Linked DNA regions of Homo sapiens: all the other regions are linked to region 4. The links are contacts of gene promoters, found by promoter capture Hi-C in blood cells and fetal thymus (Javierre and others, 2016). All regions are on one chromosome and are shown on one strand. The core of a region is centred on a gene start or on the middle of the fragment in contact, and the rest is flanking DNA. Distances in the headings are between cores, read along the strand shown. Region 1 has its middle 88 kb from the start of LINC02509. Region 2 has its middle 67 kb from the start of LINC02509. Region 3 has its middle 150 kb from the start of LINC02509. Region 4 holds the start of VEGFC (vascular endothelial growth factor C). Region 5 has its middle 48 kb from the start of LINC02509.

Region 1 (2,700 bases), core at 54-2,553, 170 kb after region 4:
AGCCAAATAAAATAAACAAAAACAAACACAAAACATTATTGAGGTAGGAAGGTTCATTACCTTCTATTTGATAGTTAATAGAACCTGCTATTTTCATAGGTTCTGTTAACCGAAAGGATGCAGAAATTTTAAAGTTCGAGTTTCTAAAATAGCCTAAAAATATAAGGCAAAGAAGGTAGGTATAACTAAAGGAGTAAGTCCCAAACTGACCATAATGGAAATATTTTGCTCCTGTTATTGACAGATAAAACAGAACAAAAAAATAGAAAATATGAAATAAGAGGTAACAAGTGTGACCCACTAGCTATACAGATAAAAATAAAGGTTCTCCCCCATCTTATTCTCAGAATATTCACAAAATTGATCAATACTAGGCCATAAAAGGTCTAAATTTCAGTGAATAGATTATTATACAATATGTGATTTAGAGAAGTAGAAGTAATAATAAACAGGAAGAAAGATAGCATTGCTTTTTCAGCACTCATAACTCAAGGAAAGTATAGCACCAGAATCAACTGCTTCCCTTTGTTTTCTGTTTGTTTTGTTGTTGTGTTATCACATTGTTTCATATATGATGAGAATTTTTTTTAATCCTTCTATTGTTTGTGTATTTCTAACTTTGTTACTTTACCATGCATTTTCCCTCCCAAAGCCCCCCCTCTTAAATCTCATACGGCTTTTCATTTTAAATAATAGAATAAGTATTTAGGAGTTTATAGCATTATATAATATAAACTTCTAAGTTTAGCGTTCCTATGTTTCTAACTTCAAAACAAAGCCAAACAAACAAACAAAAAAATCAAACAAAACAAAGCAAAAGCTTGTTGAGTTAAAGCAGTTACCTGAGTTAGGTAGCAACATAAATAAAGCATTAGTAGATATTTATTTATAACTGAAACCAATAATGAGGAAATTGGAACATTTACAAAAATACAAATTTAAAATCTATACTTACATACTTTTTAGTCTCAGATTCTGAAGTGAATGACAAATTAAAACAAGAAAATTGTGGGGGCATGATACATGATTTCCATGATATATGCTAACACATATTCTATGACTTACTTAACAAAATAGTTTCCTTTGAACAAGATAGTGTTTTAAGTGGAACTGAAGAAGGGTGATTTGTGCTGCTGTGCCTCAATGGAATTGCTGAAAATTACTCTTCTTATCCTTTGTTCCTAACAGTTTTTACTTTACTTTTTCATTGCCAGCTGGAAGGAAAATGGGTCTACAAAAACGACTCTTAGAAGTAAATGAGAATTCATTGAGGAACATTAAGCGTTTTTGGATGGTAATTTGCTTGATTAGTTGCAAACAGCATATGTGTTCATGTTATTCTTAGATTTCTCTTGTGTGTACTTTCAGAACATGTATCTTGTTTTCCATGTGTTTCTTATCCTTATCCTTTCTTCTCCTTGGAAGAAAAAGGTTGCCTATGACAACTAAAGTTATATTTTTAGTTCATTTATATTATTTGCCCAAATATTCCTTTTTCTTCCAGTGTGAAGTGGAATGTAACCAAAATATATGCCTGCATCAGCCAGATGTCATCTTCACTTCTCTCCATTAAAAACTGTAGTTGACTTTTTAAGGATCCATGCCAGAGACCAGAGAATATTTAAGCTAGACTTCAGTTAAAATAATTTATTTTTACTCAATCCAAAGTATCAATCACTTTTCTACATACGCATTAAAAACACTTACACACACACACACACCAACCTGTGGACACACACATATTTACAAGGAAACATTTTTCAAGCATTTTCAACAATTTCAACATTAAAGCTTAATTTTTGAAATCAAGACTATCCAGAAAATCTAAGATATATGTATTCACAAGCAGTTATTACAGTTTAAACCTACTTTGGCTTTTCCTGTTTTTAATCTCAGTTTTTCATAATGAGAATACACACCATCTTTAGTTTAGGGGATATGATTTCAAATTGATTTTATTTTGTTCACATTTAATTATGTTAATAATATTCCCCATTAAAATAGGATCCTATAGATTCTATAAAACTGTAAATTAGAAAATGCATCATCCAGTGACTCATTTGGTAACATATGTAAGATCCTTGTGGTAGTCAGCAAGCTACTTTTCCTCAGTTTCAAATCTTGCCTTCTATATATTGTTTTGGGATGTTGTGGTCGACACTCTACCAATAACATTTTTTTATTTTGCCAGATAGCTCCAGCCCTGCCAGTAGGGGGTGGTAGAGACGGTAGTAGTAGGCTGAAGAAGAACAAAAGGAACTGTTGATTTCTGATTGCTTTCTGTCTTATCAGTCACCCTTCAGGCTGTTCATTCCACTGGCAGTGGCAACATGGCAATTCCCCCATCCCCCATCCCTGCCACATTTTGAGAATCAACCTGAATATGCTTCAGTTGGTGGGCTCTCCTTCCTCTTACAGCTCAATCCCAGCTCCACGGGGCTACTTCTCTAAGCTTCTGAGGGACCAGTATTAGTCCAGCAGGTTCTCTCCCTTGGGATCTGAATCAGCTCTGTAGAGCTCCCCCATCTTTTTTCTTTTCTTTTCTTTTCTTTTCTTTTCTTTTCTTTTCTTTTCTTTTCTTTTCTTTTCTTTCCTTCCCTTTCCTTCCTTCCTTCCTTCCTTTCTTTCTTTTTCTTTCTTTCTTTCTTTCAGACGGAGTTTCACTCTTGTCACCCAGGCTGGAGTACACTGGCAAAATCT
Region 2 (2,700 bases), core at 200-2,699, 150 kb after region 4:
GTTTGGTATCTATCAGTAGCAGTCACTGGTGGAGTCCTTCCCTTCTTTACTTCTTAGTCATGCTGCTTTGTTTCAGGAAATACAAGACACTAATATTACTAGTGCTGTAATCAATGGGAAAGTCTCCCAGATTCTTGCATACACGTTTTTTTTTCTTATATTACTTCTTTCCCTTTTAAAAATAGTGACTTAAATGACACTACATCGCAGACACTACATGACAGGGGTACAAACAAGTCCCTGGGTCACTTAACAGAAGTCTCAAAATGGGTTGAAAACACCCAAAAAAAGCCAAGAAACCCAGGCAGAACTTTAGTGTTTTTTGGTTTGTTTGTTTGCTTTTGTTTTTATTTTTTGTCTTTTTTGAGGCGCAGTCTTGCTCTGTTGCTCAGGCTGGAGTGCAATGGTGTGATCTTGGCTCACTGCAACCTCTGCCTCCCGGGTTCAAGCAATTGTCCTGCCTCAGCCTCCCAAGTAGCTGAATTACAGGTGCCGGCCAACATGCCCGACTAAGTTTTGTATTTTTAGTAGAGACATGTTTCACCATGTTGGCCAGGATGGTCTTGAACTCCTGACCTCAGGTGATCTGCCTGCCTCGGCCTCCCAAAGCGTTGAAATTACAGGCATGGGCCACCACACCCAGCCTAGATTTTCATATTAACAAAATTAGAAAAATATTTTCAGCATTAGAGTTTACATTCATCTCACTGTGTTTCTGCCTGGATTCCCTTTTATTGAACTAAATCACCCTCTATTGACTCAGTACGTAAATCCTTTAAAGACTTTTGACAATTATGTTCTCCTAGAAGTCTTTAGCCAAGGACTGCATACTTTATTTCTTTCCTCTCACTATATAAATCAATCCCTCCAGACTCTTAATTGTATTTGCTGTTCTTTTTTGAACTCCTTCCAGTTCCTCAGAGTTTGTAAATAGAAAAAGAGAAAAAGAGCTCTATCTCAAAGTGATTTCCAGTTCAGGTACACTTTCTTGCTTCGTAATATGATGGGCCACCCAGATGATTTTTAGTTTTTCCCCCTGAATCCTCATAACATTTCAGTTTCATCTAATTTACTGTGATTTGAGTGCTTTCCAATTGTTTCTCTTCCATTGAATGTCTGTTTCTGATTATTTTTCTACAGAGATGTTCCTTCACATTATTTCAAGTTGAATCTCATTTTCTTATTTTTTCACCATGCTTCAAACTTCTTTAGGCTTTTTTTTTTTCTAATTTTCCATCTGTCTGGGTGCTCAGTGTCCCTCTATATTGAGAAACCTTTGCACATTTTATCAAAGCTTCATTAATTCCTGATATTCTATGAAGATATTTTTAAAAGACCAAACATGAGGCAAGTTATCATGTGCAGTCATTCTCAGTTAGCATCCTCTTCTCCTGATGTGTTGTTTGCCAGCATTCAATCACTCTACAATTTCAAGTCATTCTAAAACAATAACAAACATGAGACTATTAAGTTCTCACCCTCCTCCTTTTTCTCCTCTTTAATTTTTAATGTAGTCCTTTAGCCCCTAGGATTTCTTTCTATCTGTGAATCTTGGGGCTTATCCAAATAAAGTTGGGTCCATGATGATTTGTTAATAAATATCGCTAAGCTTCTGATTACATTTCTGAATATTCAGCCATGCTCCACTGGAGCCTGCAGGGATTTCGGCCATACTGAAATAGAAAACATTCCTTAGAGAGCCAAGGTGTTCAGTGAGAAATGTCAAAGCTTCTATACCAATGATTTTCCCATGATCCACACTCTCATTTTGTAAATTAATCTGAGAGCACTAAGATTTTTTTTTCCCACAGAAACCAGGGAACTCCCCTTTTGTAGAGAAAATAAGACGTAGACATATAAAGAATACCTTCATATATAAACGGTATCATAGTTCTGGACAGAATCTCAAATGGTATGCAGACCAGCTCACTATCTTCAGATAGAAACTTACCTTTTTGATTCAATCATGTGAATATTATTTTCAAAACTTACCATCACAAAGTACTGTGCCTCTTGAGAGTTAAAAAAAAAAAGATCCTGTCCTCTAGGAACTTACAGTCCATCCTGACTAACCAAAATACCCCACAGTCCCGAGGAAAGAGTAAATGAAAGCCAAGATGACCTCGCTCAGAGGTACAGAGGGCAAGGCAGCAGAAAGGAGATCACTATTCTGAGTGCTCTTGCATCTCGTTGTTTGTCACAAAACACTTTCCTCACTTGAATGTAAGACATGAAAAATGTTCTGCATTCACCATGCATGAGGGTGTTTTTGTCGCTATGATATGGGAAAGGATAAAAGAGTTCAGTAGTTCTTGAGTTTGTGTGTGATTGACTCTTAAGACTCATAAAATAGCCTCTTTCATCAGAAAAATGGTGATATACAAATTTCTAAAATATTGCATGCAATTTTAGGAAACCATTGTGTGCTGTTTTTCTATTTCTGCCATAAGAAATGACCACACACTTAGTGGCTTACAACAACACAAATTTATGATGTTACAGTTCTGCGGGGAGAAGAGGAAAGGTCTCACCAGACATAAACCTCAGTGGGAGCAGGGCTGTGTTCCCTGCTATAGGCCCTTGGGGAGAATCCATCTCCTTGCTCATTCAGGTGTTAGCAAAATCCATGCAGTGGTAGGACTGAGTCTGTGCCCTTGCTGGCTGTCAGATGGACCACTCTCAGCTCCCACAGGCATCTTT
Region 3 (2,700 bases), core at 50-2,549, 230 kb after region 4:
CTTAGAAATCGTTCCTTATCAATTAGTCAAAGTGACTGTGAAGGCACTTTTACAATTTTGGTTCCTTACAATTTGATTCTTATAATGTTATGCCTTAAATTAAGAAGTATTTTTTCATAGAATAAACTTGAAAATATGCTCTAGATTATTTTTATATGCTTTCATGTGCTGAAATTATAATATTACTTTATTTTTATTTTGGGCAATTATTTCTAAAATAATATTTTGCTTATTCAAAATAGACAAGTTTTAATTTGAAACATAACACAATAAATTAGAGAACTGTAATGGTGTCAAGCACCAAAAACATAATGAAAAAATGTGTCAAGACAAGTTATTCTTTAGACTATCAATTAGTTACATTCTTGATGATGTGTCTTCATTTTATTAATATCCTAGAAGTATTTTTATTTTAGTGATATAGAAAAAAATATAAACTTGCTTTTACCTAACTTCATTAGGAATACCTGTGACACTTGAGCTGGTATTTAAGAATATATTATTAAAAATAATTTTACCTAGTTCTTTTCACTTTTTAATGTAGCTGCTAAAAAACTTAAAACTTTATATGTGGTTTTGAATTTGGCTTGCATTATATTTCTATTGAACAATGTTGCTTTAGCCATTGGCAAGAATGAGACTAAATCAACTCCATATTAGCCAGGGATTATAATTAGTTTGATCATCTTTATTAACTCATACTACAGTCCTGTCACTTTATTTTTATGACCAATTTTGCCATTTGTCACTGTAGATAGTGACCATGGCTACATTACTTCCACCAGTATAATTTCTTTTTCTTTTTTTTTAAACTAAATTTTTTAAAACTATTTTAATCCTCTTTTTTTTTTTTTTTTTTTTTTTTTGAGACAGTCTCACTTTATGGTCCAGGCATGAGGCAGTGGCATGATCATGGCTCACCGCAACCTCAACTGCCCAGGCTCAAGCAATCCTCCTGCCTTGATCTCCTGAGTATCTGGGACTACAGGTATGGGCCACGATGCATAAATGACTAAAAGCTAAGTCATTTTCTACAAGTAACACCTGCAAAGCAGTTTGGAAAATTATTCAGTAATGAAATTTCATTGGACCTACAGAGATTTGTTTTAGCTACGTTCACCTTTAATTCGACCATTTAACAACTGCCCTTCCCAGTCATCTATCATCTAACTAATCTTTCTTACAAGAGGATCAAACAACAGTTGATTCCTATCACATTTCTCAGTTTTTCTTCCATCAACTTATATGTATACTCAGAGAAAACATTATTTGGGCCGGGTGCGGTGCCTCACGCCTGTAATCCCAGCACTTTGGGAGGCCAAGGCAGGCAGATCACGAGGTCAGGAATTCAAGACCAGCCTAGCCAATATGGTGAAACCCCATCTCTACTAAAAATACAAAAAGTTAGCTGGGTGTGGTGGCGCGTGCCTGTAGTCCCAGCTACTTGGGCGGCCGAGGCAGAAGAATCACTTGAACCCAGGACGCGGAGGTTGCAGTGAGCTGAGATTGCACCACTGCTCTCCAGCCTGGGCGACAGAGGGAGACTCCGTCTCAGAAAAAAAAAAAAAAAGAAGAAGAAGAAGAAAAAGGAAACATGATTTGGAAGGAGTGATAACATATATTTCATACCTTACTTCTCAATGCTGAGCTCTCATTATAGTTTTAGTCTTTGGGAGAGTTTAAATCTTAACTGTTAGCTTTTAATGATTTAAAGAGATTGTTATGCAATTCGAAATATTATGACCAAGTATTATTATATTCTGCTGTGTAATAAACCACCTTAGAATTTGATAGCTTAAATCAAGTAAAATAGTTTACTTTGCTCATGAATGCACATTTTGGGCAGTGCTCTTTGATGACTCTATGTCTCTGTGCTGCATAGTGTCACCTGGAAAGGAGCTGAAGGATCCACTTCCAAAGTTGCTCAGAAGGAAATGACATTTCCTTCCCATGAGAGCCTCTCTATCTTTCTCCCAGCAGGGCAGATAGGTTTCAGAAATGAGTGTTCCAGGAGGCCTGGGTAGAAGCCATAAGTCTTCTTATGACCTGGCCTCAGACCCACTCCCTTCTATTGGTCAAACAAGTGGCTAAAGCCTGTCTGATCCCAGGAGAAGCAAATAAGAGCTCACCCTCTTAGTGGAAGGAGTAGCAAAGAATTTGTAGTTGTCTATAATCTACCCATAAGTTATTCTGATGTCATTATTTGCCCTTACATCACATGTGATATCAAAGACATTTTTGGCTATGGTAGTGTTTGTATTCCGTAAAATTCTCTGCTCTCTCTAATTGGACTTTGTCTTTAACTGCTCTGCAACTTCCCAGGTGTGAAGAAGCTCAGAGCATAATACACAGAAATGGATTTTCACTTAAGCCAGTCACAATCTGTATTGCCGTCTTCCACCATTCCGATACTAATTAAGTGGAAGGACAAATATTATCCAAAGGAGTCCATACCTGGATATTGTCATCAGGAAATCTTGGCACTAAGAGAGAGAAGGATGGCAAGGGAATTGCAGCAGTCACCAATCTCTAATGTACTAGCATGTCCTCAAACTAGTCTGAAAGAGAGGTTGGTTTAGATAGCAAGAATATTCATCACACAGGAAAGGTAAACACCTTGGACACAAGCTTCCTCCAAATCCTGACTGACAGGCAGCCAGTCTCATGGGACAGGGGCGTGCTCAGGTCACATCAGAGACA
Region 4 (2,700 bases), core at 196-2,695:
AAACCCAAACAAGAAAAAAAAAAACTTAGTTTGCAGTATCTCATGACCAGATTTTAGGAATGAAGAGCTTATAAAGTTGAAACAAGCCTTGCATTGCTTGATTGTGATCTAACTGACTCTAATCTCCCGTTACATCTCAAGTCTGACCAACTTCAAGTGAACTCTGAAAGCTCTGGAGCCTGGTTACTAAAGTCCCTGACACTTTTTTTCTAAAGTCGCTCACAGCGCCTGGTGCTCTGCAGACTATGAACACTCCAGGAAAGTAAGGCTGGGTTGACTGATCACCAGTGTCCCAGAATCTGTTTGGAGTCCCATGAATCAGCTGGGGAAAGAAACGAGCATTTCCCGACCAAAATGAACTCATACTCTCCAGAGCCCCGCTGACTGGGCAGGGTTCAAGACCCCTTGGTTGCCCCAGAGGAAACCAGTCTGAAATAGATTTCGGGATCTCTCACTGGGCACCTCTCCGGGCCCTTCACTCGTGTAACTTGCTTGCCTCTCTAGTAACAACTTTCTATTTAAAAAGAAGAAGATTTTTCTCCAAAGCAGCGTGCACTGAGCTCAGTAACTTTGGATCCCACGTACACAAGCTTAAAGCACACACACTTTCCCCCGCGCAGGTTCTCGGGTCCGCCGCAGACCCTAACGCAAACTCTCGGGTTCTCCGCAAACCCTAACGCAGACCTACCGTGGCCTCGCCCGCGTCGGGCTCCGCGTCCGAGAGGTCGAGTCCGGACTCGAAGGCGGCGGCGGCGGCGGGCGCCTCGCGAGGACCCGGGAGCAGCGCAGCGGCGAGCAGAGAACACGCCACAGAGAAGAAGCCCAGCAAGTGCATGGTGGAAGGACCGGGGGTGGGGGACCGGTCCGCTGGCGGGGGCAGGGGTGGGGGCGCGGGCGCCCCTGCGAGGCCGCGGGCCCCTCCTGGTCCCTCTCCCCCGGGCTCCTCCCGGCGACCCCCCCTGGGCGAGCCGGAGGCGGCGGGAGCGGGTCCGGGGCTCCGCGTTCCCAACTTTGCAGGGCGCCCTCCCAGCCAGTGCCGGGGAAAGGCGGCGGGTGTCAGGTAAAAGCCTCACAGGAAACCGGACATCCGAGCTCCCCGCATTCGGAGCCCGCGAGGTGAAGCGAGGGCGAGGGAGGACGCCGCCGCGGTCCGCGTCGGTGTAGCTTTTTGGAGAGGCGGGGCGGGGGACACCAGAACACCCCGCGATGTTCAGCCCCTCCAAACCCGCCAGAGCCCTCGTCCCCCTCCTCCCTCCCCTTCCCCGAAGTGAGAGGAGCCGGGCCGCGGGCGCTGCGGCGGGGGCGCTGGCGGCGGTGCCGGGGGCGGGAGGAGGGCGGCGGGGCGGCTGGCGGCGGCGGGGCCCGGGAGCGCCGCGGCGCAGGATCCTCCAGAGCGCGCCGGGCTGAGCGGCGGCGGCGGCGGCGGCGGGCGCAGGGGCAGGGCATGACTGACGCGCCCTCTGCCTGCGCTTATGTGAGAGAAAGCGGCCGAGGGAGGGAGCGTGCCGAGCCCGGGCTGCCCTCCCCTCTCACTCTCCCTCGGAAGCCGTCTCCCTGGAGCTCCCCGTTTCCCTCGCCTCCTCCCCGGCGGCCCCACCTCCCCCGGCCCCCCTCTGGATCTCTCCCTCCCCGCCCCTGTCCCCTGCGGGGAGCGGGCGGCCGGAGGGGCAAGTTCAGTCCCGGGGCTGGCGGTTGGCGGGACCGGCTTTAGAGGTGATGCGACCACCCTGGACCACGTGCAGCGGGGAGAAACTGGGCACCGTGGGGTGGAGGGAGCCCCCGCTTTATCCTCGGCCACTCCCGAGTTCTTGTCCTCCCTCCCGCACGCCTGGCCCCCAGAGCCCTGCTCAAAGTTTGGAAATGTCCTGGGGGTTGTAAAAGTTCCAAGAAAAGGTCATCACTATGTCAGAGAACCCTATGGGACCTCGGAGGGGTCCCCTCTCTCCCTTGGTCTGTGTAGTTGAAAGTTGCCTGATGATCCAAGAACCGCAGTTCTCAGGATGCAGTGCAGGCTGTTGGGATGGATGCTAATGATCCCTTTGGAATCCTAAACTTCTGACAGGTGAAGAGAAGGGCCAGAATCTTCGTGGAGAGTAAAGAGACACATTGTCAGCTTCTGCAAGAAGTTGGTTTACTTGAAAAAGGGGGTGATAAAGAGAGATGTGTGTGAGACATATTCCAGAAAGGATGTGTAGCATCCAAAGAAAAGTGACTGCATTTCCCCATTGGAAAAGCACTGGGGTTTCCGTTGGGCTGGTGGCATTGGCTAGCTGCCTCCTTGGGGCAGGGTGAGCAGGTTACAGAGGACCACGCTAAGGGGTTTCAACAGTGTACAGAACATCAAAAGTCTGCCTTTCACTCCCAATCTACTTTTAAGTACACAGATGTTATAGGTCCATAATATCTTACCGGAAGAAGAGACTTTCTTATCTGGTTCAACTCTAGATTTGAAACTCCTCACCCATAATTTACTTGAAGGCTTAAATATCTCAAAGGACAGGGAACCTTCCATTCTGTGTGGCTGTTCACTCCCTTTATTGATGAGCAACACTGCTGAAAAGCATTTCCTTCTATCTCTCTATTGCTTTTGACTCCTGGAGTTTTACACAATAAATCTAATCTCACTTCCACAACTGAGTCCTTCAAATATTTTGAAAATATTTATCATGGTCTCCCTAAGCTAACTTTACTCCTGGCTAA
Region 5 (2,700 bases), core at 9-2,508, 130 kb after region 4:
TATTTGCTGCTAATAAGAATTGACACGACTCTTCTCAGCTCTTCACTACCTCACATTTTAGAATCATTACCAAAAAGTTCTTTCCCTCAATAACCTTATTGCTATCAACTTTGAAAAAAATCAGGAAACTATGAGGATATAAAATATATCAGATAACACACTTGCTATTTATTTATTTATTATTTTTGAGGCAGAGTCTCCTCCTGTCACCGAGGCTGGAGTGCAGTGGTAAGATCTCTGATCATTGCATCCTCCACCTCCCGGGTGGAAGCGATTCTGCTGCCTCAGTCTCCTGAGTAGCCGGTGGCACGTGCCACCATGCCCGGCTAATTTTTGTATTTTTAGTAGAAACGGGGTTTTTGCCATGTTGACAAGGCTGGTCTCAAACTCCTGGCATCACACACTTGCAATTTAGAGGAGACTTTTCTACTTTCTAATAAAGTAATATTGATATGTATAAAAGTGTTTATTTGTTCATAGATATCTTTAGGAAATCGTGGTAACATTGTTGCTATGTGCCAGGTATGATCATGGCAAGTCACTTAATCTTTTTCTTCTCCGTTGATAAATTGATAAACTAAAGCTTATAATAGGAGCAACCTCATAAATGTGTTATACAAATTAAATGTATGAATGCATGCAATGCCCTTTCAAAAGAGCTCAGGAGCAAAGTAAGAACTCAATAATGGTAGAGATTTTTATTATGATTAAAATTAATATTTGTTAGGAGAAACAAGAGGATTTAAATAATGATAGGACAATAAACACTGGGGACTTCTAGAAGGGGTGGTGGGGTGAGGAAAGGCTTGAAAAGCTAACTATTAGGTACTATGCTCACTACCTGGGTGATGGGATTAATCCCGCCCCAACCCCACCATCATGAAATATACCCATGTAACAAACCTGCACATGTACCCCCCTGAATCTAAAATAAAAGTTGACATTATTTAAAAAAATGAAAAAATAAATAAATATCTATCGGTAAAGTGCTCTGGGCATTCAAAGGAGGAAGAGATTCTTTCTTCCAAATGTCACTGGAATGCCTCCCTCCTTCCTCCATTATTATCTCAGAAGGTCGCTTACCTGCTGAAGAGCTTGAGTTTATGGTTACACAGACCCTTAGGTCCTTAGGTCCACTCATAAAGAATCCTTCAGCAAGCTAATTGATCTCTTCGAGACCTGACTTCTTATAGCAATATATATAAAATGTCTGGTACAAAATCAGTAATCCATGCATATCGATTTCTCATTAAAAGGCCCATTTTAATAGAATATGAGGCTGATTGAATGCTGTTTGGGGGTGTTAGGAGAAAAGAAGTCCTGAAAAATCAGAGAGAATTTGCTCAGATGAAAATAATTCAGTTGAATTTATTAAAAGAAACAGTAAATTGGAGAAAATAATAAGGATTATTCAAAACATATTAGTCATGTTTAGTGACCTAAAAAATGTTAGTACTGTATGTGTAATCTATGATGAGAAAAATGTCAAACTTTGGAGTCTTCAGTGTTTTCAATGATCACTCTGATTTTCATTTTTAAAATTATTTCAATATGTATGTATGACCTTTTGTGAAAATACTCCCACAGGGATTAGGAATGCTGATTATTTTTCTGTTTGTGACCATTAAGAAGGGAAATGACTATTTCAGACCAGGAAAAGCAACCAAGTTCATGATGATGACTGTACAGTGTAGTATTATCGATTGATCGATCGATCGATTGATCTATCTATCTAATCAATCTATCTATCTAATGTGTGTATGTATATATATGGCTTATATATCTATATGGTTTATATATATGATTATATATCTATATGGTTTATATATATATGGTGTGTGTGTATACATATATATATAAACCCCTCCACACAGTGACTTTTAGTAAAACGAAGTCTTTTGTTAGTGAGAATTTTTTTCAAATTATAAGAGAAGTAAGCTTTTGAAAATTCAGTGATAGCACAGTAAAATGAAAAAAAAATTGACAATAACAGAAAAGCTCAGGGAAATAATAAAAATATATTAGTAAAATATTTACAGTGTAATATAAATACACTATTTTATGTTTTTATATACTTTATAAACTTATTTATATATTTTATACATATTTTATATTACATATAAATAATATATATTTATATAAGTGTATGATTTTATATATGATTATATATAAAATATATAATTATATATATACATTCATATATTATACTACTTTATTTATTTCTATATCCTTTATATAGTTGATTTATGTTTATATATTTTATATTCTATATGCTTATTTTACTATTTTGCTCTTTTTTTTTTTTTTAGTCTCCTTAAACACTGTTAACCTTTCAGATCATTGTTATATTATCTCAAACTCATGGAATTCTAGTCTATGAACTGGCTAAGCTTATTCACTCAAGTGCCAGATTGTCTAGGTTTTAATTCCATGTCTGCCATTTACAGCTTGTGTGATCTTGAGCAAGTTATGTAACATCTCTGCACCTCAGTTTCACATTCGAAAACTGGAATAACAATAATGCTTAGCTCACAGAGTTGTTTTAAGGATTAAAATAGTTTTTAAGTAAGAGCAGAAGACCTGAAAGGACCTGTGGCATGGAGAGTCGGCTATCATCACTAAGTTCTTACCTCCCCCAGACTGGGTTTCTTTTGCTTGCCTCTTCATGGTATCTGGAGATTACTCTCTTCTTCCTCTAGC

The links. The method cuts DNA at HindIII sites, captures the fragments that hold promoters and counts their contacts. A CHiCAGO score of 5 or more calls a contact.
Region 1: a contact is called between a fragment that was not itself captured here and the fragment with the promoter of VEGFC in region 4, in 2 of 17 cell types (megakaryocytes and endothelial precursors). The highest score is 10.0, in megakaryocytes.
Region 2: a fragment that was not itself captured here is called in contact with the fragment with the promoter of VEGFC in region 4 in 2 of 17 cell types (endothelial precursors and megakaryocytes); the score reaches 6.5 in endothelial precursors.
Region 3: a contact is called between a fragment that was not itself captured here and the fragment with the promoter of VEGFC in region 4, in 1 of 17 cell types (endothelial precursors). The highest score is 7.5, in endothelial precursors.
Region 5: a fragment that was not itself captured here is called in contact with the fragment with the promoter of VEGFC in region 4 in 2 of 17 cell types (megakaryocytes and endothelial precursors); the score reaches 9.2 in megakaryocytes.

What each region holds. Positions count from the first base shown.
Region 1 is chr4:176,962,084-176,964,783 of GRCh38, forward strand. No RefSeq gene overlaps it. Among named protein-coding and RNA genes, the nearest start is that of LINC02509, 88 kb to the left of the region's middle. The HindIII fragment of the contact is 971 bases long and covers 819-1,789 here.
Region 2 is chr4:176,941,700-176,944,399 of GRCh38, forward strand. No RefSeq gene overlaps it. Among named protein-coding and RNA genes, the nearest start is that of LINC02509, 67 kb to the left of the region's middle. The HindIII fragment of the contact is 315 bases long and covers 1,293-1,607 here.
Region 3 is chr4:177,024,400-177,027,099 of GRCh38, forward strand. No RefSeq gene overlaps it. Among named protein-coding and RNA genes, the nearest start is that of LINC02509, 150 kb to the left of the region's middle. The HindIII fragment of the contact is 2,653 bases long and covers 1-2,626 here.
Region 4 is chr4:176,791,477-176,794,176 of GRCh38, forward strand. VEGFC (vascular endothelial growth factor C) reads right to left here and starts at 1,446. Exons shown (of 7, transcript NM_005429.5): 1 at 689-1,446. The coding sequence starts at 835. The HindIII fragment of the contact is 3,942 bases long and covers 589-2,700 here.
Region 5 is chr4:176,922,754-176,925,453 of GRCh38, forward strand. No RefSeq gene overlaps it. Among named protein-coding and RNA genes, the nearest start is that of LINC02509, 48 kb to the left of the region's middle. The HindIII fragment of the contact is 1,355 bases long and covers 582-1,936 here.